Regions from separate parts of the Homo sapiens genome. Here regions 1, 2, 3, 5, 6 and 7 are each linked to region 4. The links are contacts of gene promoters, found by promoter capture Hi-C in human tissues and cell types (Jung and others, 2019). All regions are on one chromosome and are shown on one strand. Each heading gives the region's core, a stretch centred on a gene start or on the middle of the fragment in contact. The rest is flanking DNA. Distances are from core to core; before and after follow the strand shown. Region 1 overlaps NEK1 (NIMA related kinase 1). Region 2 has its middle 15 kb from the start of CBR4-DT. Region 3 has its middle 34 kb from the start of CBR4-DT. Region 4 holds the start of SH3RF1 (SH3 domain containing ring finger 1). Region 5 overlaps SH3RF1 (SH3 domain containing ring finger 1). Region 6 overlaps SH3RF1 (SH3 domain containing ring finger 1). Region 7 overlaps NEK1 (NIMA related kinase 1).

Evidence for each region. Contacts are between HindIII fragments. The study calls those that stand out against the background at their distance.
Region 1: a contact is called between a fragment that was not itself captured here and the fragment with the promoter of SH3RF1 in region 4, in 1 of the 25 tissues and cell types used here (mesendoderm cells).
Region 2: a fragment that was not itself captured here is called in contact with the fragment with the promoter of SH3RF1 in region 4 in 2 of the 25 tissues and cell types used here (dorsolateral prefrontal cortex and mesendoderm cells).
Region 3: a fragment that was not itself captured here is called in contact with the fragment with the promoter of SH3RF1 in region 4 in 1 of the 25 tissues and cell types used here (lymphoblastoid cells).
Region 5: a fragment that was not itself captured here is called in contact with the fragment with the promoter of SH3RF1 in region 4 in 1 of the 25 tissues and cell types used here (dorsolateral prefrontal cortex).
Region 6: a contact is called between a fragment that was not itself captured here and the fragment with the promoter of SH3RF1 in region 4, in 1 of the 25 tissues and cell types used here (dorsolateral prefrontal cortex).
Region 7: a fragment that was not itself captured here is called in contact with the fragment with the promoter of SH3RF1 in region 4 in 1 of the 25 tissues and cell types used here (IMR-90 fibroblasts).

Annotation. Positions count from the first base shown.
Region 1 is chr4:169,417,903-169,420,602 of GRCh38, forward strand. All of the region lies in intron 31 of NEK1 (NIMA related kinase 1), which reads right to left. Among named protein-coding and RNA genes, the nearest start is that of SH3RF1, 150 kb to the left of the region's middle. The HindIII fragment of the contact is 7,668 bases long and covers 1-2,700 here.
Region 2 is chr4:169,023,817-169,026,516 of GRCh38, forward strand. No RefSeq gene overlaps it. Among named protein-coding and RNA genes, the nearest start is that of CBR4-DT, 15 kb to the left of the region's middle. The HindIII fragment of the contact is 5,084 bases long and covers 1-2,700 here.
Region 3 is chr4:169,043,221-169,045,920 of GRCh38, forward strand. No RefSeq gene overlaps it. Among named protein-coding and RNA genes, the nearest start is that of CBR4-DT, 34 kb to the left of the region's middle. The HindIII fragment of the contact is 5,908 bases long and covers 1-2,700 here.
Region 4 is chr4:169,269,579-169,272,278 of GRCh38, forward strand. SH3RF1 (SH3 domain containing ring finger 1) reads right to left here and starts at 1,378. Exons shown (of 12, transcript NM_020870.4): 1 at 1,281-1,378. RefSeq lists silencers at 599-818, 1,059-1,818, 1,859-2,008. The HindIII fragment of the contact is 13,720 bases long and covers 1-2,700 here.
Region 5 is chr4:169,095,496-169,098,195 of GRCh38, forward strand. It overlaps SH3RF1 (SH3 domain containing ring finger 1), which reads right to left. Exons shown (of 12, transcript NM_020870.4): 12 at 1-1,192. The coding sequence ends at 1,024. Among named protein-coding and RNA genes, the nearest start is that of CBR4-DT, 86 kb to the left of the region's middle. The HindIII fragment of the contact is 3,239 bases long and covers 1-2,700 here.
Region 6 is chr4:169,122,037-169,124,736 of GRCh38, forward strand. It overlaps SH3RF1 (SH3 domain containing ring finger 1), which reads right to left. Exons shown (of 12, transcript NM_020870.4): 7 at 64-230. Among named protein-coding and RNA genes, the nearest start is that of CBR4-DT, 110 kb to the left of the region's middle. The HindIII fragment of the contact is 4,240 bases long and covers 1-2,700 here.
Region 7 is chr4:169,446,955-169,449,654 of GRCh38, forward strand. The region is part of intron 27 of NEK1 (NIMA related kinase 1); the gene reads right to left. Among named protein-coding and RNA genes, the nearest start is that of NEK1, 160 kb to the right of the region's middle. The HindIII fragment of the contact is 5,371 bases long and covers 1-2,700 here.

The DNA of each region.
Region 1 (2,700 bases), core at 45-2,544, 150 kb after region 4:
GACAAAGATCAAAGTCCAGGGAGGTAGAACTAGAAAAGAGAGATTCATTAAAATAAAACAAAAAAAACTTCAAAACTTTGCAAGGTAGTTTTCTTGAGTCTTTGATGAGCACAGGCCATGAATATGCAGAATGAAACTTCACAAAGCTAGGCCAAAACAGCTGGGGAGTTGTAAGCTGAACAATGCTCAGAGCTCATGCAGGTAGGAGATGATCAAACTGACCGGGAGGGAGGTGTTTCCTCAAGATCACCTGTGATGTACAGTGGAGGCCCTAGAGGGTCATGCCTTGGAAATAAGTTAACTAGCTCTAGAATGAAGACAACTTTACACTTGTCCTAGCAAAGCTTAAAAACAAAGTTTAAAAGTGTAAAATAGATCCACAAGTAACTTGACTAACTTAAACCCAATACTCTTTACAGGAAGATAGTAATAACAAAAAAATCAGAGACCTAGGAATATAATATTCACAAGGTCCACCTTCAAATAAAGAATTATAAAACACACCCAGAAGTAGGACAATATGATCCATAACCAGTAGAAAAATAAGTCAACAGAAGAAGATACAGAGATGATGGAACTCGCACATAAGGATATTAAGCCAGCTATTTTAATGGAGTATTAAAGGATAAACACGAACATAATGTGGAGAGAAATGAAAGACACAAAAACAACTTCTAAAGATAAAACACACAATATCGAAATAAAAGGTTCACTGAGTGGGATTAATAGTATATTATTGCAGAAAAAAGATAAGTAAACATGAATACATACTAATAGAATTTATCCACAAGGAAGTACAGAGAGAAAAAAAGACTGAAAACAAAATGAACATAATCTTAGTGACCCGTGGAATGGTATCAAAGAGTCTAACATATGTAACTGGAGTCACAGAAAAGGTAGTAGAGAGAGAGAAAAAATATTTAATTGAAATAATAGCCAAAACTTTTCCAAATTTAATGAAAAGTATAAACCTAAGGGTCCAAGAAGATCAATGAACCCCAAAACAGGATAAACACACACACATTACAGACCCCATATACAGCATTGGTCCCATAAGATTATAATAAAGCTGAAAAATTCCTCTCACCACCTAATGGCATTGTAGTGTCATAGTTTAATGAATTACTCATGTTTGTGGTGATGCTGATATAAACAAACCTACCACACTGCTAGTCCTATAAAACCTTACTCCAAAAACCTTACTCCCCAAAACCCTTACCAAAGCATTTAATAATCAAAATGCTAGAAACCAGTGATAAAAAGGAAACTGTAAAAGAAGCCAGAGAGAAAGATACTCTATATACATGAAGATAAGAAAGCTCACATATTTCTTAGAAACAATGCAACCCAGAAGACAATATAATTCTATATCTAGTGAAAATATCCACTCAAAATGAAGGTGAAATGAAAACACTTTCATACAAACAAAATCTGAAAAAAAAAATCATCATCAACAGGGCTGTGTAAGAAGTGTTAATGGAAGTTCTTAAAGTGGAAGAAAAAGAATACCAGATAGAAACTTGAATTCTGCACAAAGGAACAAAAAATGTCAGAAATAGTAAACATGTAAATATAAAATACTTTCCAATTTCTGACTTCTGTAAAAGATAAATGAATGTTTAAGCAAAAATAATAAAAATGTATTGTGGAATTTATAACGTGGTAGAAAAAATACCCGACAACAATACCACGAAGGACAGGCAGGACGGGAATGGAAGTACAGTCATGCTTTGCTTAACAAAGATACGTTACGAGAAAAGTGTTGTTAGGCAATTTTGTCATTGTGTGAACATCATAGAGTGTAATTACACAAACCTAGATGGTATTAGCCTACTACATATCTAGGATATGTGGTACAGCCTATTGTTCCTAGGCTACAAAACCTGTATAGCATGTTACTACACTCAATATTATAGAAGATTGTAATACAATGGTAAATATTTGTCTATCTAAACACTAAGGTATAGTCAAAATACCATATAAAAGATTAAAAATGGTGCACCTGTATAGGTACTTACCATGAATGGAGCTTGTGGAACTGGAAGTTGCCCTGGGTAAGCCAGTGAGTGAGTGGTGAGTGAAATGTGAAGGCCTGGGACATTAGCGTACACTACTGTGGACTTTATAAACATTGTATACATAGACTACACTAAATGTATTTAAAAATTTTCTGTCTTCAATAAATTAACCTTATCTTACTGTAACCTTTTCACTTTATAAACTTGAAGACACAAACACACACGTCAGCCTATGCCTACAGAGGGTCAGGATCATCAACATCACTGTCTTCCACCTCCAATCTAGAAAGTCTTCAAGGGCAATAACACGAATGAAGCTGTCATCTCCTGTGATAACTATACACTATACACTGAAATACCTCCTGAAGGACCTGCCTGAGGCCGTTTTACAGTTCACTTTCTTTTAATACGTAGAACACTCCAAAATAATGATAAAAAGTAAAGTATTAAAAATACACAAACCAGGCATGCAGTCAATTATTATTGTTGTCAAGCATTAGGTACTGTACATAATTGTATGTCCTAAACTTTTATAGGACTAGCAGTGTGGTAGGTTTGTTTACATCAGCATCACCACAAACATGTGAGTAATGCACTACACTGTGACACTACGATGTCATTAGGTGGTGAGAGGAATTTTTCGGTCTATTATAATCTTATGGGACCACTGCTGTATATGGGG
Region 2 (2,700 bases), core at 33-2,532, 250 kb before region 4:
GCACGTGACTCCCTGTGAAATGATGTTTTAAGAGAGTTAATTACAAAGTCCTATGAACCCAAAAGGAAAGTGCTCAGATCCGGAAGAATAGGAAATGAAGAACAGTATGCTTGTGTCTGTCCACAAGAAAAATATATGATGTCTAAATAACAACCTAAAATAATGAAAGATTTCTGTGATGCATGGCTGACACACAGTACATCTTCATCTCAGGGGAGAATTTCCAGAAGTTGATTTTCCAGATTTATAGAACACAACTCCTGAGTGGTCACTGCAGCAACTGTGTCATTTTTCTACTTTTTCCAGCTGAACCAGTGACAAGTTACATCACTAATCCTGAGCTTATTAAGAAGTGTCACCATCTCATGTTGGAAACCTCTCCGGAGGGTTTGGTACTGTTCTCTCAGGTAGATTATTTAAGATTAATGTCCTGATATGACAAACTGCATTTTTAATCTGTCATCAAAGCAGATTATCAGAACCAGAAATGACAAGATTTAACACACAGTTTTTCATGCCTAAAACTAACAGCAAAAACTACAATGCATTTCACTACATTCAAAGTAAACATGATATATTAATGAATGGTTTTTCCTCTGTCACCGAATAATTATAGATTCCTTCTTACTAAAAACAAATTATGTTTATTTCCCTTAAGAAGACTATGATTAATTATACACAATTACACTTGCCTTTAATTGAACAGATTTCTTCTTTACTCTGGATTAGTGGGTTATTGTATATTATTAAATAGCTTCAGAAAACCCAAAGAAGGAAACCTTTCTCTTCAGAACTAAAGCTGGGTAAGTAATGGTGGTCGTGGAACTATGGATAGGGGTCAAAAAAGTTTCATTTTCTTGTTAAAATGACCTATGGCAAACAGAGCTAACAGTGTCTTACAGTTCTGATTTATTGGAAGCACATTGATATGCCTGAATCTCAGAAATTGTATTGGAAAAGCCACAAATGAAAGCTGAGAGAGATTAACATGTGGTGGGCTAAGACTTTGTAAAGATAGATTCCTAAGGCAGGATTTCTCAAACTCAACAATATTGACATTTTAGGATGTATAATTTTTGTTGTTGTTGGGGGTTGTCTTGTGCACCACAGAATATTTGCAGCATCTATCCACTAGATGCCAGTAACGTACATCCTCACAGTTGTGACAAACAATGATATCTCCAGACATTGCCAAATGTCTCCTAGAAGGGGATGGGGGCGGAGTGGGGTAGAGGGGAGCAAAATTGCCCTGGTTGAGAACCACCACCCAAAATTGTAGCATTCCTGTCTGGCCCCAAATCTAGAGGACATTGTACCTGATTCTGCTAGATGCTGAAAGTGTATAATTCTGTTGTGATAACAGAATATCCAGAATAAAGACCATACTTCCCAGCCTCACCTCCCTTACAGCTAAGTAGGGCCATGCTTCTAAAGTCAGGTTAACAGGATTTAAGCAAAAATTGTGTGGGAACTTCCTGGTCATGCCCATAAAAGGAAAAAAATATTTCCTTCTATTCTACTTTCCACCTTCTTGCTGGCTAGTTATAGACATGATGGTGAGAGCCAGAGCAGCCATACTGGACACAGGGATTGGAGCTGTGTGTTGAGTATGGCAGAGTAACAACAGCATGGGTGGCTGGATGTTTGACATGGTAGAGGTCCCATATCAGCTTTGAGACCTGAGAGAGAATAAACTTCTCTCTTGCTTAAATCTCTGTTCTATCAGGTTCTTTGTTATAGCAACTGGCATTTTCGTGGTAACTAACACACATCCCAACTGCTGTTGCATGCGCTAAGCCAAAAAGGCAGCAATGAAAAGAGGAGGGATCACTTCTTGTCCTTTTGGGTAAGACCAAGTATAAAACAGGGAGCTTCCTTTGTCCCACTGGAATCTAAAGAAGCTCTAACTGGGTCTACATCCTTGATTGGAAAACAGTCATTTTTAATTGTAACATAAACAAACACCAGGGAAAGAAACAGTGAGCAGTGAGGGAGGACGGAGTTAGTGATTCAGTCAGACCAACTGAATTCACACAGGCGATCCAATAGGAAGACAGTGTGCACAGTTGGTCTTTTCTTAGCTTACACTGAGATTCACGTCTGGACAGGTGAGGCTGGCGAAGTCCCCTACACAGCTGTTTATTTGCATGAGCTGGTTTGCCACGCAAAGAGCATGCTAGGCCAGGCACGGTGGCTCATGCCTATAATCCCAGCACTTTGGGAGGCTGAGGCGGGCAGATTGCTTGAGCCCAGGAGTTCAAGACCAGCCAGGCCAACATAGGGAGATCCCGTCTCTACCAAAATTAGCTGGGTGTGGTGGCGCCTGTAGTACTAACTACCCAAGAGTCTGAGGTGGGAGGATTGCTTGAGCCCAGGAGATCAAGGCTGTGGTGAGCCAAGATTGCATCACTGCACTCCAGCCTGGGTGACAGAGCAAGACTATCTCAAAAAAAGAAAGAAAGAAAAATAAAAAGAAACGAAGGAAGGAGAGAGAGAGAGAGAGAAAGAAAGAAAGAAAGAGAGAAAGAAGGAAGGAAGGAGAGAGAGAGAGAAAGGAAGAAGAAAGAAAGAGAGAGAAGGAAGGAAGGAGAGAGAAAGAAAGAAAGAAAGGAGAAAGAAAGAAAAAAAAGAAAAGAAGAAATGGCATGTTAGGTTGTACTTTTGTGGGAATGTAAGAATGAGAAAGACATTATCAGTGGA
Region 3 (2,700 bases), core at 31-2,530, 230 kb before region 4:
TCTTGATTACTGCCACAGCCTTCTAATGGGTCTCCTTGCTTCAACTCTTGCCCCTCTGCACTCCATTCTCCATAGTGTGATCTTTTAAAAGTGCAAAGCATATCCTGTCAGTACCTTTAACATTGCACTTACAGAAATAACTTCCAGATTCTTTACTATGGCCTACAAGGACCTAAGGGATATGGGTCCTGTCTGCTCCCCTTCTCTCACTTAGTACCATCTCCCCCACCCCACCCTCTGTCCCCACTTTTTTTTAATTTCTGTTCTGGACTCTACCAACCTTATTCTGGCTACAGGCTCTTTGCACTGGCTATTCCCTTAGTCTGAAGCACTTCTACCCCAGAACTTCCCATGGCTGGCTCCCTTCATCATCCAGGTCTCATCTCTGATGTTTCTTCTTTAGAGATGCCTTCCCTGACATTTTAACTAAAGCAAAACTATCTATTCCCCATCTCCCCCACATATCCCACACTAATTTCTTCACATTATGATCTGAAATTATTATATTAACATACTTGTCTGCATTTTTATCATGTTTTCCCCCCCAGAAGGTAAGCTTCATTAGGACAAGGATCTCAGGTGATTAATCTTGTTCACTATTGTGTCCTTAGCACCTAGCACATAGCAAGTGCGCAATGAATGGATATTAACTCTACTAATGAAAGAGTAGAGGAGGCCAGGCATGGTGGCTCATGCCTGTAATCCCAGCACTTTGGGAGGCTGAGGCGGGCGGATCACCTGAGGTTGGGAGTTCGAGACCAGCCTGACCAACATGGAGAAACCCCATCTCTACTAAAAATACAAAATTAGCCAGGCGTGGTGGTGCATGCCTGTAATCCCAGCTACTCAGGAGGCTGAGGCAAGAAAATCACTTGAACCCGGGAGGCAGAGGTTGAAGTGAGCCGAGATGGTGCCATTGCACTCCAGCCTGGGCAACAAGAGTGAAACTCCATCTCAAAAAAAAAGAGTAAAGGAAAAACAATCTAGCCAAGATTTTTAATTATAGAAATCTGTTAATATAAAATTTATAATATCAACTTTATATTTTCTATAAAATGCTACACAGAGGCCAAGAGTGGTGGTTCATGCCTATAATCCCAATACTTGGGGATGTTGAGCTGGAGGACTGCTTGAGCCCAGGAGCTCAAGATCAGCCTGGGCAACATAGCAAGGCTCCATCTCTACAGAAAAAAAAAAAAATTATAAATTAGCTGGGCATAGTGGGGCCTGCCTTTAGTCCCAGCTACTCAGGATGCTGAGGTAGGAGGATCATTTCAGCCCAGGAGTTTGAGACTGTGCTGAGCCATGATTGTGTCACTGTACTCCATCCTGGGTGACAGAGCAAGACCCTGTCTCAAAAAAAAAAAAAAAAAAAAAGCTACCCATTAGGTCCAAGTTGTACTCAAAGTGATTAGGTTATGAAATTGAGGCTTGCCATGAAGGTGGTTATATTAAACAAGTAACTTGTATTACCTTGATAAGATTATTACACTTTCTTCTGCTTATTAATGTTGAAACATTTATAAGTTAGGAATGCTTTGGTTATAAATAGCAACATATCTGACTATAATTTACATCTGTAGAGCTGTTCTGGCTCCTTATACTATGTAACAAAACACTCACAAATTTGTGGCTTAAAACAATATTCATTTTGCTTCCAAATCTGCAATTTGGGCAGGGCTCAGCAGGGGAAGCTCATCTGCGCTCCACTTGGCTTCAGCTGGGAGTGGGCCGCAATCACCTGAAGGCTATTCACCTGCTTACTTGGTGCCTGAGTAGATTCAAATGTCTAGGGGCTGGAACAGCTGGGGCCCCTTGGGCATGTATCCCTTTGTGCTTCCTCCATGTGATCACTCCAGCATGTTGCTCTCTTCCATTTGTTAGAAGCAACAAGCTCAAGCTGATCCATAATCAAGGGAAAAAGAATTAGACTTTTCCTTTTGATGGGAAGAGAGTCATCAAATAACTTGTGAATCTGTTTTTCTTGCATAAGAAAAAGTACAAAGAGCAATATCCCAAGGCTATTGCAATGGCTCAACAATGTTATTAAGAAACCAGACAGTACTGGGCATGGTGGCTCACGCTTGTAATTCCAACAATTTGGGAGGCCAAGGTAGGAGGATTACTTGAGGTGAGGAGTTCGAGACCAGCCTGGGCAACATAGGGAGACCTCCGTCTCTACTAAACTTTGTTTTTTTAATTAGCTGGGTGTGGTAGTGCATGTCTGTATTCCCAGCTACTTGGGAGGCTGAGGTGGGAGGATCACTTGAGCCAAGGAGGTTGAGGCTGCAGTGAGCTATGATCACATCCCTACATTTTAGCCTGGGTGACAGAGCAAGACCCTGTCTCTAAAAAAACCAAACCAAACAAAAAACAGCCCAGTCTCATGCAGTGGCTCACACTTGTAATCCTAGCAGTTTTGAGAGGCTGAAGCCTGAGGCCAGGAGTTTGAGACCAGCTTGGGCAACACAGTGAGACCACTGCCTCAAAAAAAACAAAACAAACAAACAAAAAAACCAAAAAAACCCCAAGCTCTTTTGACCATTTTTCTCAGCATCTTTAGGGTCTTGGCTTATCATGTTATGTTGATATAATGGAATGGCTTCTGCATCTCCAGTCATCACACCTGTATTTTAGGCAGAACAAAGGCAGAATGTCATTTATTCTCCACCGTGCCCCGGTATAACCATGCGGCTGAAT
Region 4 (2,700 bases), core at 128-2,627:
GGATTTATGAAGTGCAATAAGGAACATAATTTCTTAAGCTCTGAAAGTGGTATCAGCTGCCTTAATAAAGTCTTCAACTCATAGGAGAAGCTGACAGAGGCCATTGAAAGTTTCCTCTACCTGAAATTTACTTTTATATCCAACTAAATTCCCTTTTTTAAGCCACTTTAGCGTTTAAGAAACCATGCCTCATGTAATCGCTCGTGGTAAATGATCCCAATATTAAATACATATGTTTCTTCGCTGTTATTAAAAATAGAACTGTTTAATTTTGCCCAACCAAAAAGAGCTGAAGGTTGACAATTCTAAAAGACACAGATTTGCTTGAAAGCAGCTAAAACAGAAAAGCGCCCTTCAGGGCAGTAGTTGATAAACTCTGAAACACATTTCTGAACGGCCTGTCCTAATCCCATTCAGAAAAGCTGGCAAAATTATCACCAAAAGAATTCGACAATGGAAGGTTGGACTGGAAACTGTGGGCATATGAAAATGAGGCCATTCAGGAAAAAGCAAGCCACTTACTGCGCCGCTCTCCCCCCACCGCCAAAATAAATGTAAAAGTGAATGCCCAGGAGAACGGGAGTAAAAAGATTTGGCTGGGAGCATTAACAGCTGTTCTTGACAAAGCCGGAGCGGGGGAGCCCCAGGGCTGCACCCCCGCTCCCACGGCGCCAAGCACAGGTACTCCCAAGCCCGCAGGGAGGCGCGGCGGCCGCTCGCCGCAGACACACCCCGGGGCCAGGTGTCGGCGGCACCCGGCAGGAGCCGGTCGCGGCCTGGGGCTGCGGCCCGGCCGGTCCCGGCGTGGGGATCTCACCCTACAGCCTCCCTCATCTCCGCCTCCCTTTAGCTCAGGCCGGGGACACAAATCCCTCTACACGACTGCGGGAAGTTTTCAAGGACTTAAAAATAAATGCGCAGGCTTAAGTTGCGAAACTCAGCCCCACAGAGTGCCACGGGGAAGCAGCTTTCTAGCCCAGCCAAGATAAGGCGACAGTCCCCAGAGAGACCGCGCCATCCGGGAAGCAGGGGGTGCTGGGCTGCGCCCGGGGAGACCGCGGCACGGAGCCCTGGCAGCTTCCTGCCCGGAGAAGGCAGAGGCCGCGGGCTGCTCCGCTTCCGCAGGTCCTGATTCCCGGCCCACGGGGACCCGAGGGCGAGGGGAGAGAGAGACCGACCCAGGGCGGGGATGGGGGAATGTCGAGACCACCGCCTTCTCCGCGGCTAGGGGTCCGCCGACGCTGGGTCCCCGTCGACCCCGCGCCGGCCGCGCGCCCTACCTCGCGCCTCGGCTCCTCCTCTTTGTTCGCGGCCCCGCAGCGGCTGCGGCGGCTGATGCAGATGCGGCCCCACCGCGCTCGCCGCTCGCAGTGTCTCTGACGCCGCGGCGGCACCGGGAGACTCCTCTCTGCTGCCCCCCTCACGCGCGCACACACACCACGCCGCCGCCGCCGCCTCCCACTTTCCCAGCCAAGGAGGGCGGAGGAAGAGGAGGAGGAGGCCGGGACGCAGCCGGCGCCCGGGGCGCAAGGGGGCGGCCCCGCGCCACAGCGCCTTCCCCGGGAGCGGGCGCGGCACCTCTCGGAGCCACCCGCCGCCGCGCCGGCCTCCCGCGCTGAGGTGACCTGCGCCCAGTACCCCGCCGGAGCCCGGGGGCGGGATTGGGGCGGCGGCCTGAGGGGGCGCTGCAAGAGCCTAGAGGATGGGGAGCGGGGCCCCCAGGGGACTACGAGGGGAAGGCTCGGGGACGGACGCCTTCTCCCTGAGGAGAACGCGCCTGAAAAATGGAGCCACCGGACGGGAAGGCGGCGGGAGTGGAGGCTGGGGGAAGCAGGAAGAAGCCCCGGGACAGGGTCCCGCCGCCTCCTCCTCCCCCCGGCGGGGCTGGGAGCCCTGGACGGACCCTTCCTCCCCAGGCTGGGCGAGTCGCGGCGCGGGAGGGGCTGGGTCCGCGGAGGCGGCGGGAGCAGCCCTGGCGGGAACCGATCCCGCTGCGCTTTGCGTCTGGTTGCCCACCCCGGACACTTACTTGGTAGAGTCGGAGCGAAGTGTTGCCCCTTAGGGCCGAGAGCGGCGTGGTGAATCGATGGGGACAGTGCCGCGGCCACCTGTCCGCACCCAGCCATCAGTCACCCCAGGACCCAAACCGGAGCAAGCCTGGAGGACCGCTGACCCCAAAGCCCAAGACTAGGAAAACGGTAGTACGGACTTCCAACCCAGGCTCGGGGGCTCTGTTATCCCTGCCCTAAGTGGGGAGAATTGAGTCTGACCTCAGGTGGGCTGGCACCGCAAAGCACGCTGAGAGGCGCCTCTTTTATCTGAGCCTGGGTGGCTGCCATCATCGCAGTAATCTTTGTTTTGGTTGCCCCAAGCACACACCTGTAAACCGAAGTGGAGTTTTGAAAAACATCTTGTCCATAGGTTTTGAGGTTTTTCAGTCTCGATTTAGTGGAGAAGCAAGTTAAAATTTTGTCACTGATCTAAAGTTGACATTACTATATTTGCATTTACCATCAATTTACAAAAAGTTATCCCAAATACCCCTCCTCAAAGGTGGGCAGAAACTAGGTGGTTATAAGAAGAAAGGGTTACAACAGATGATGCAAGAAATCTCTGCCCAGCCACCAACTAGGTTTATGATTTGACGAGGAGTCTCAGTTTATCCTCTAGTCTCCAGCTAGGGCCACAGCTAAACCATTC
Region 5 (2,700 bases), core at 150-2,649, 170 kb before region 4:
ATGGATGAATATGAACTTTTCACAGTGTTTCTTATAGCCTTTGACTTAACACGAGTGCATCACTTACCACCACTATCTCACAAATGTTTTACTTGTGTCCTGGGCATGCAGGTCAGTTGGGGTAAAATGTGAAATGACGCTTCATAGCCATTCTCAGACAGTGACTACAACTTCAATTTCCCCTACTTTCCAACCAAACAATTGAGCTGCTTCTGCTATAAAACTAAATATATTTCTAAATACATTTTGTTCAAGGGTTGTGCTGTATTCTTTCTCATTGTTTCAGTCACTTCATTCTAGGAAAATTAAAAACCCACACAATTAAATTGAGGACTAGGTCTTCAGGGTGATTCCTACCAAACTAGAAAGAGAGGGAATCACTAACTTCTCTTCTCTCAAGTTTCTGTCTCTCTACCCCAGGCCCTAATTGATACTGATTCATTTGTATGTTTGGTTTCCCAAAGAAGAAAACCAAATTAGAGAACTGGGATTTCTATCTTAAAGAAGCAAAACATAACCCCAAAATATAATGGTAGCAGGGAGGAGGAGAGGGGAAAATGCATTCACTCTATGTCAAAACGAATCTCTTGCTCTCAACAGGAGATAATCCAGCTTCTCCTTACCTATCATTTCATAAATTAATAATTTCTTAAAATCATAATCCAAAGAACGTATCTATTATACGAAAAGTTCAAGTTTAAAAAAGCAAATAAATTAGTTAAGCCTTGTAAACAATTGTCCATTTTAGTCATATATCTTAAAAAAAAAAAAAAGTTTCTCTGTGTAGTAAATCAGACAGTACAAGGCACACCTTATACATCCGAATCCAGACTAACAAAACCCACACAAACATCTTCTTCATTCTGCTCGCTGGGGTAACTGTGCTGGGGCATCAGAGTCACATACCAATCCTTTGCTCATCTCCTGACCATCTGGAAGTCCACAAATGTGCTCTTTCTGTTAAACTGCTTTGTGCTACTTTGTTGTGTGAAGTGATTTTAAGCTTCTTCAGTGTCAGTCTCCTCATATGTTTTCCACAAAGCTTCCTGGGAAAAGGCCAGTTTTCCCATTACGTTGTAATGTGCCTTTGAACCAGCCATCCTCTCGTTTTTTATGAACAAACACAATATCTCCTTCTTTAAGTTCAAGTTCTGCCTCACTCTGAGGAGGATAGGAAACCACCACCCTGTGCCTAGAAAAGAAAGAGATTTTGGTTAAGGCGATTCAAAGCAGTGATTTTAAAAAATGGTGTACTGTTAGTCTGCACGAACCTTCAACATAAATAGGAAATAACATTAATTCATTTATGATTGTAAAACAACTCAAAATACTGCTATTTTCTGTTTAGTAGAGACTTAGTACTAACAAAGACTGGATTTGGATATGTGTGTCAACCCACTACTGATGGCCCAGACTGGTTCATCTGAGTGACCTTAACAAGGACAGCCATCCTTGTTCCCTACCAGTGTTTGTATCTTGGCCATAAAGGAGAGTTTCATTTCATTTCCCGAGAGGGGTATCATTTCTATCCCTCCCTCTTCTCCAAGGAAACAGGAGTGAATTTATTTGATTGGTGAGACTGGGAGAAGTAGCTGAGCAGGGGGGGTTCAGTCCTCTCTGAACCGCCTGCCCACAGGCTAAGGAGGCTCTGCTCCACCTCTATGTTGTAAGCACACAGAGGTCAGGAAGGTGAGTCTGGAAGTCTGTCTCTGTGTCCCTACGTCCCTTACACTGGTGTTTGACATGGGCGAGGCAGCAATTCTGAGGAAGGTAATCTGCCCCACATACCCAGATTATCCCTTGGGAAGGTAGTCCCAAGGTCCAGACATGGAGGGGAGGGCTATGGCCACAAGTTCAATCCAACATTACCAGTAACGAGGTTGACATTCTCATCTCTATTATTCTGACATTTGGGTCTGTTTCTCCTTGGCTCAGAATTTGGAGTTAGTGGGAAAGGTGTCATTATCGCTTAAAAATGGCAGAAGCTTAGTTGGTTTAATATTATCTGTGCCCCTGCCTCCATGCTCCTTAGCCTTCCTGTGCAGAATTACAGCTTGTAGGAAACGAGAGGGAGGTGACTTGTTTTACACTCTATATCCTTTTATCTTTCTCTATTTTTCCAGCATTATTTGCATTACTCCTCTTCTCAACAAAAGGGGGGAAAAGAATGGTGGTGTATGGTAGCCAACCTCCAAGATGGCCCTAGTGATCCTTGCTTCCTGGTATTCACACTCTTGTGTAGTCTCCTCCTATGATGCACAGGATGACCTGTGTGGCCAATAAAATGTTGCAGAAATGACAGTGGGTGATTTCTGAGGCTAGATCATAAAAGGCATTATGGCTTCCACTTTACTTTCTCTTGGATCGGTCACTCAGGAAAACTGGCTGCCATGTTGTGAGGACACTCAACATCTCTATGGAGAGGAAACACATGGTAAGGCACTGAGGCCTCTTTCCAAAAGCCTAAACTAACCAGAAAAAGTGATGTGAATAAGCCATCTTAGAAGGGGATCCTCCAGCCCCAGTTGAGCATCAGCTCAGGCTGATGTCTTGACTACAATCTCAAGAAATACTCTAAGCCAGAACCAACCAGATGAGCTGTTCCATAATTATGTGACCCACAGAAAGTGTGAAATAATACATGCTTATTATTGTTTTAAGCCACTGACTTTTGGGCGTAACTGGTTACATGGCAACAGA
Region 6 (2,700 bases), core at 94-2,593, 150 kb before region 4:
CTCTGAGGTTTGGACTTCGTTTAAATGAACACATAAGCAGTAACAGACGACACGCTCACTTACACACTGGGGCGAGTCTGCGGCCGTAAATGTGCAATCTGGTCAGTGGATCCTGCCATGGGCCTCGGTCCCATTCCAGCAGCAGCAGCAGCGGCGGTGGCGCCTGGTGGTGTGGAGGCAAGGACAGTGGCAGCCAGGAGAGGGGGTGGTGGAAGAGGAGGATTCAAAGTCTAGTATAGGAAAAACATAAAGAGAAAGGGAAAAAAGGGAACAAAATACTGATTTACATCTTCCTATGGAAGGTGGGAGAGAAAAAGAATTATAAATCCATAGAACAAGACTTTAATGGAATCCACACAGGGCAGAATCAGCAGGCTAACTGATATGAAAGCCTGCTTCTACAAATTCATCTCTTGTTCTCCTTTAAAATATTAAAGCCAAAGCAACCTTTTCAGCAAGCAGGTAAGTAATCACCCTTGGGAGGAGGGAAAGAAAAAAAATGAAACAATTGCATGTAATCTTAAGATTAATAGCATTTTAAAGTATGGACTTGGACAAGGATCCAAATGCCTTTCGAGGCGGGTAGCCATGTCATGCTGCTTGCTAGGAATTAATTTGTGATTGTTTCTGTAATCTGAAACTTAAACACAACACACAATGTAGCTGTACTATATCTCAAATCATTCCTTCAGAAGAAAATTTCCTTTGATGCCTGGTCTACAAAAAGCCCAAACAATAGTAAGCCACAGTCACTGGACCATTGTTGCTACTTTTGCTTATTCTTTTCTTAACTTTGCCAGCTTTTGAAATTTGGTACTATCGAGGCTGGTAATCTTTAACAAGTACACCAGTGAAAAGCTGCTGGTTCCTTTATGGGCACAGCCTAATGGGGTTCTGCCTACAGGATTCCATGCCTTTTGAAAATCAATGGAGCAATTGTTACCTTCTGATCTATAAACCCAGATAATTCTTTAGGGTCTGTATACTGAAACTCTTGGGAAAACAGGCACACAAAGACTGCCTGAACCGCTACCTCGTCCTCTCCAGATCTTTGAACAACTAGATGTAAAAACTAAGTCAAAGGAGAAATAAGAAGACTAAAGAATTTACCTAGTTAAGTGTAAATGGCTTCTATATGTCAGCATATTAACAAAATAAAGATCCAATGATTTCTAAACAGAGCTTATACCAGTCATCTTATTTCTGTTTTTTGGAATAAAAATTTGAATTTCATCACCATTCACTATAATACATCTGGCTGTTAATATAGACATACATAGTTCCAGAAACATAACGAACTGAGTGGAAAAAAATTTCAAATTTCTAGACGCACGCTGTAACTATTCGATGCATTATGTTTAATTTTTTGCTAAAGCGACTTTCAATAAAGATTTTTCCCACACTGTAGCTAAAGTGGTTGCAGAACATTTAGTGCAGAAACAAATGAGGTGCAGAGCCACTTACAAAGTGCAAACCAGGAGAAGGCAGAGGTTAGCTCAAAAAGTTGGAACGTCAGGAAAATGTGGCTCACATTCTCAATTCAAAATATGGCACCATTAAGATTTGTTATAGCTCGCAGGCGCAGTGGCTCACGCCTGTAATCCCAGCACTTTGGGAGGCTGAGGCGGGCGGATCACGAGGTCAGGAGATCGAGACCATTTTGGCTAACACGGTGAAACCCCATCTCTACTAAAAATACAAAAAAATTAGCCGGGTGTGATGGCGGGTGCCAGTAGTCCCAGCTACTCGGGAGGCTGAGGCAGGAGAATGGCGTGAACCCGGGAGGCGGAGCTTGCAGTGAGCCAAGATTGCGCCACTGCACTCCAACCTGGGTGACAGAGCAAGACTCCGTCTCAAAAAAAAAAAAAATTGTTATAGCTCTGGAATTTGCATGTACTGAGGCTTAGAGCCTCCAAAACCTTTAACCAGGAGAAGGGCAAGCATTTATCCTGTTAGGCTTCTTTCCAGTGACAAAGCAGAGATAAAGATAATCCTGGTCACAGCAAATGTGACCTGGACAGTTCATGGATAATAATGCATCAGCAGTTTGACAGGTGAGATAATCGGTCTACACTGTATATAGAGTAATATATGGAGAAACTGTAAAATTACCACTTCACTGATTTCCATTTAAATCTTTCTAAGCTCAATCTCAAAACAGTGTGGCTGTGGAAAGGCAGAAAACTAATGGCATGTGCTCAAACAGAAATTAAAATCATCTATTATAGCTTAACTTTATTAAAACAGAGGCTGTACTAATTTGACCTAAAAAGAAAAGGACAAAAATCATCTATGCACCTGATAAAAACATGTCATCTTTTGTAATATAAATAAAATTTTGTAATAAAATATAAAATCACTTCTTGTCACAAAATACACTAAGTTAAATGTTTCATGTACATTACTTTTGCAAACAGTGAGAGTTAGACATTAAGATATGGCATCAAAGAGGATATTCTGAAAGATCCCAAAGGTTCTTCCTGACAGAAAAGAGTTCTCTCTCACTTTCTGTGGCTGAAACATAAATGGTTTAATACAATTGGGCAGATCTTTTCCCAGTGCATGCATGTTTGCATGTGTAAATTTGTGTGTATGTGAGCAAACAGATGAAGATCAAGAAACTCTGATTAAAATCAGATTCCTAGATGTTGCTTGCCCCTGTGGGGTTGGTGAAATGATAGGGTTCTGGTGACTCCAGAG
Region 7 (2,700 bases), core at 63-2,562, 180 kb after region 4:
CTCAGAAGGGCAAATCTAAGAGTGATTCGTTGTAACGAGGAAGTAGAGAGACCGGGGTACAAAGTTTATTCAAAGGGATAATGTCAGAGAACTTCCTGAACCTAGAAAAAGATACCAATATTCAACTACAAGAAGGTTATAGAACACCAAGCAGATGTAATCCAAGGAAGACTACCTCAAGACATTTACTAATCAAACTCCAAAAGGTCAAAGACAAACAAAGGAGAAAAGCAGCAGCAGACTTTGTGTCTGGCAGCAGACTTTTCAGCAAAAATCTTACTGGCCAGGAGAGAGTGACAGGACATATTTAAAGTACTGAAGGAAAAAAACTTTTATCCTAAAATAGTATATCCAGAGAAAATATCCTTCAAACATAATGAAGAAATAAAGACTACCAGACAAACAAAAGCTGAGGGATTTCATCAACACAAGACCTGTCCCATAAGAAATGCTAAAAGGAGTTCTTTAATATGAAAGAATAGGACAATAATGAGTAATAAGAAATCATCTGAAGGTGTAAAATTCACCAGTAATAGTAAGTATACAGAAAAACACAGAATATTAGAACACTGTAATTGTGGTGTGTAAGCTACTCATATCTTGAGTAGAAAGACTAAAAGATGAACTGATTGAAAATAAAAATTATTCACGCCTGTAATCCCAGCATTTTGGGAGGTGAAGGCGGGTGGATCACTTGAGGTGAGAAGTTTGAGACCAGCCTGGCCAACATGCTAAAATCCCATCTCTATTAAAAATACAAAAAAATTAGCCAGGTGTGGTGGCACACACCTGTGATCCAGACTAGTCGGGAGGCTGAGGCAGGAGAATCACTTGAACCCGGGAGGTGGAGGCTGCAGTGAGCCGAGATCGTGCCACTGCACTCCAGCCCGGGCAACGGAGTGAGACTCTGTCTCAAAAAATAAAATGAAATAAAATAAATAAACATTATGTGAGGTGTGATGGCTTATGCCTGTAATCCTAGAACTTTGGAAGGCTGAGGTGGGAGGATTGCTGGAACCCAGGAATTTGAAACCAGCCTGGGCAACATGCAACATGAAACCAGCCTGGGCAACAGGCAAAACCCTTTCTCTACAAAAAAAAAATACAAAAAAATTTAGCCATGTGTGGTGGCTACAAGCAGTGGGACATGCTTGTAGTCCCAGCTGCTTGGGAGGCTGATGTGAGATCACCTGAGCCAGAAGGTGGAAGTTGTAGTAAGCTGAGATTGTGCCACTGCCCTCCAGCCTGGGTGACAGAGTGAGTCCCTGTCTCAAGAAAAAAAAAATTACAACTTTTTGAGAGACAATACAGTAAGATACAAATAGAAACAAAAAGTTGAAAAGTGAGGGACAAAGTTAGAGTCTTTATTAGTTTTTTATTTGCTTGTTTGGTATCTGTTTTTGCAATCACTGTTGTCATCAGTTTAAAATAGTGGGTTATAAGATAGTATTTATACCTCATAGTACCCTCAAAAATAAAAAATCATACAACAGATACGCAAAAAAATAAAAAGCAAGAAATTAAAACATACCACTAAAGAAATCACCTTCTCTAAAATGAAGATATGAAGGAAGGAAGGAAGAGAAGTCCACAAAACAACCAGAAAACAAATAACAAAATGGCAGAATTAAGTCTTTACTTGTAATAATCCCATTGAATGTAAATGGAATAAACTCTCCAATCAAAAGACAGAGAGTGGCTGAATAGATTAAAAAAGAAGACTCAACAGGAGTTCCAAGATGGCGGAATAGGAACAGCTCCAGTCTACAGCTTCCAGCGTGCTTGATGGAGAAGATGGGTGATTTCTGCATTTCCAACTGAGGTACCTGGTTCATCTCAATGGGACTGGTTGGACAGTGGGTGCAGCCCACGGAGGGTGAGCCGAAGCAGGGTGGGGCATCACCTCACCTGGGAAGCGCAATGAGTCGGGGGATTTCCCTTTCCTAGCCAAGGGAAGCCGTGACAGACTACCTGGAAACACGGGACACTCCCCACCCAAATACTGTGCTTTTCCCAAGGTCTTAGCAACCGGCAGACTAGGTGATTCTCTCCTGTGCCTGGCTCGGCAGGTCCCACGCCCACAGAGCCTTGCTCACTGCTAGCCCAGCAGTCTGAGATGGATCTGCCAGGCAGCAGCCTGACTCGGGGAGGGGCATCCGCCATTGCTGAGGCTTGAGTAGGTAAACAAAGCTGCCCAGAAGTTCAAAATGGGCGGAGCCCACCGCAGCTCAACAAGGCCTACCGCCTCAGTAGTCTCCACCTCTGTGGGCAGGGCATAGCTGAACAAAAGGCAGCAGACAATTTCTGCAGACTTAAACGACCCTGTCTAACAGCTCTGAAGAGAGCAGTGGTTCTCCCAGCATGGTGCTTGAGCTCTGAGAAAAGATAGACTGCCTCCTCAACTGGGTCCCTGACCCCCACGCAGCCTAACTGGGAGACATCTCCCAGTAGGGGCTGACTGACACCTCATATAGGTGGCTGCCACTCTGGGACAAAGCTTCCAGAGGAAGGATCAGGCAGCAATATTTGCTGTTCTTCAATATTTGCTGTTCTGCAGCCTCCACTGGTGGTACCCAGGCAAACAGGGTCTGGAGTGGAACTCCAGCAAACTCTAACAGATCTGCAGCTGAGGGACCTGACTATTAAAGGAAAACTAACAGTAAGGAATAGCATCAACATCAACAAAAAGGTAATCTACAC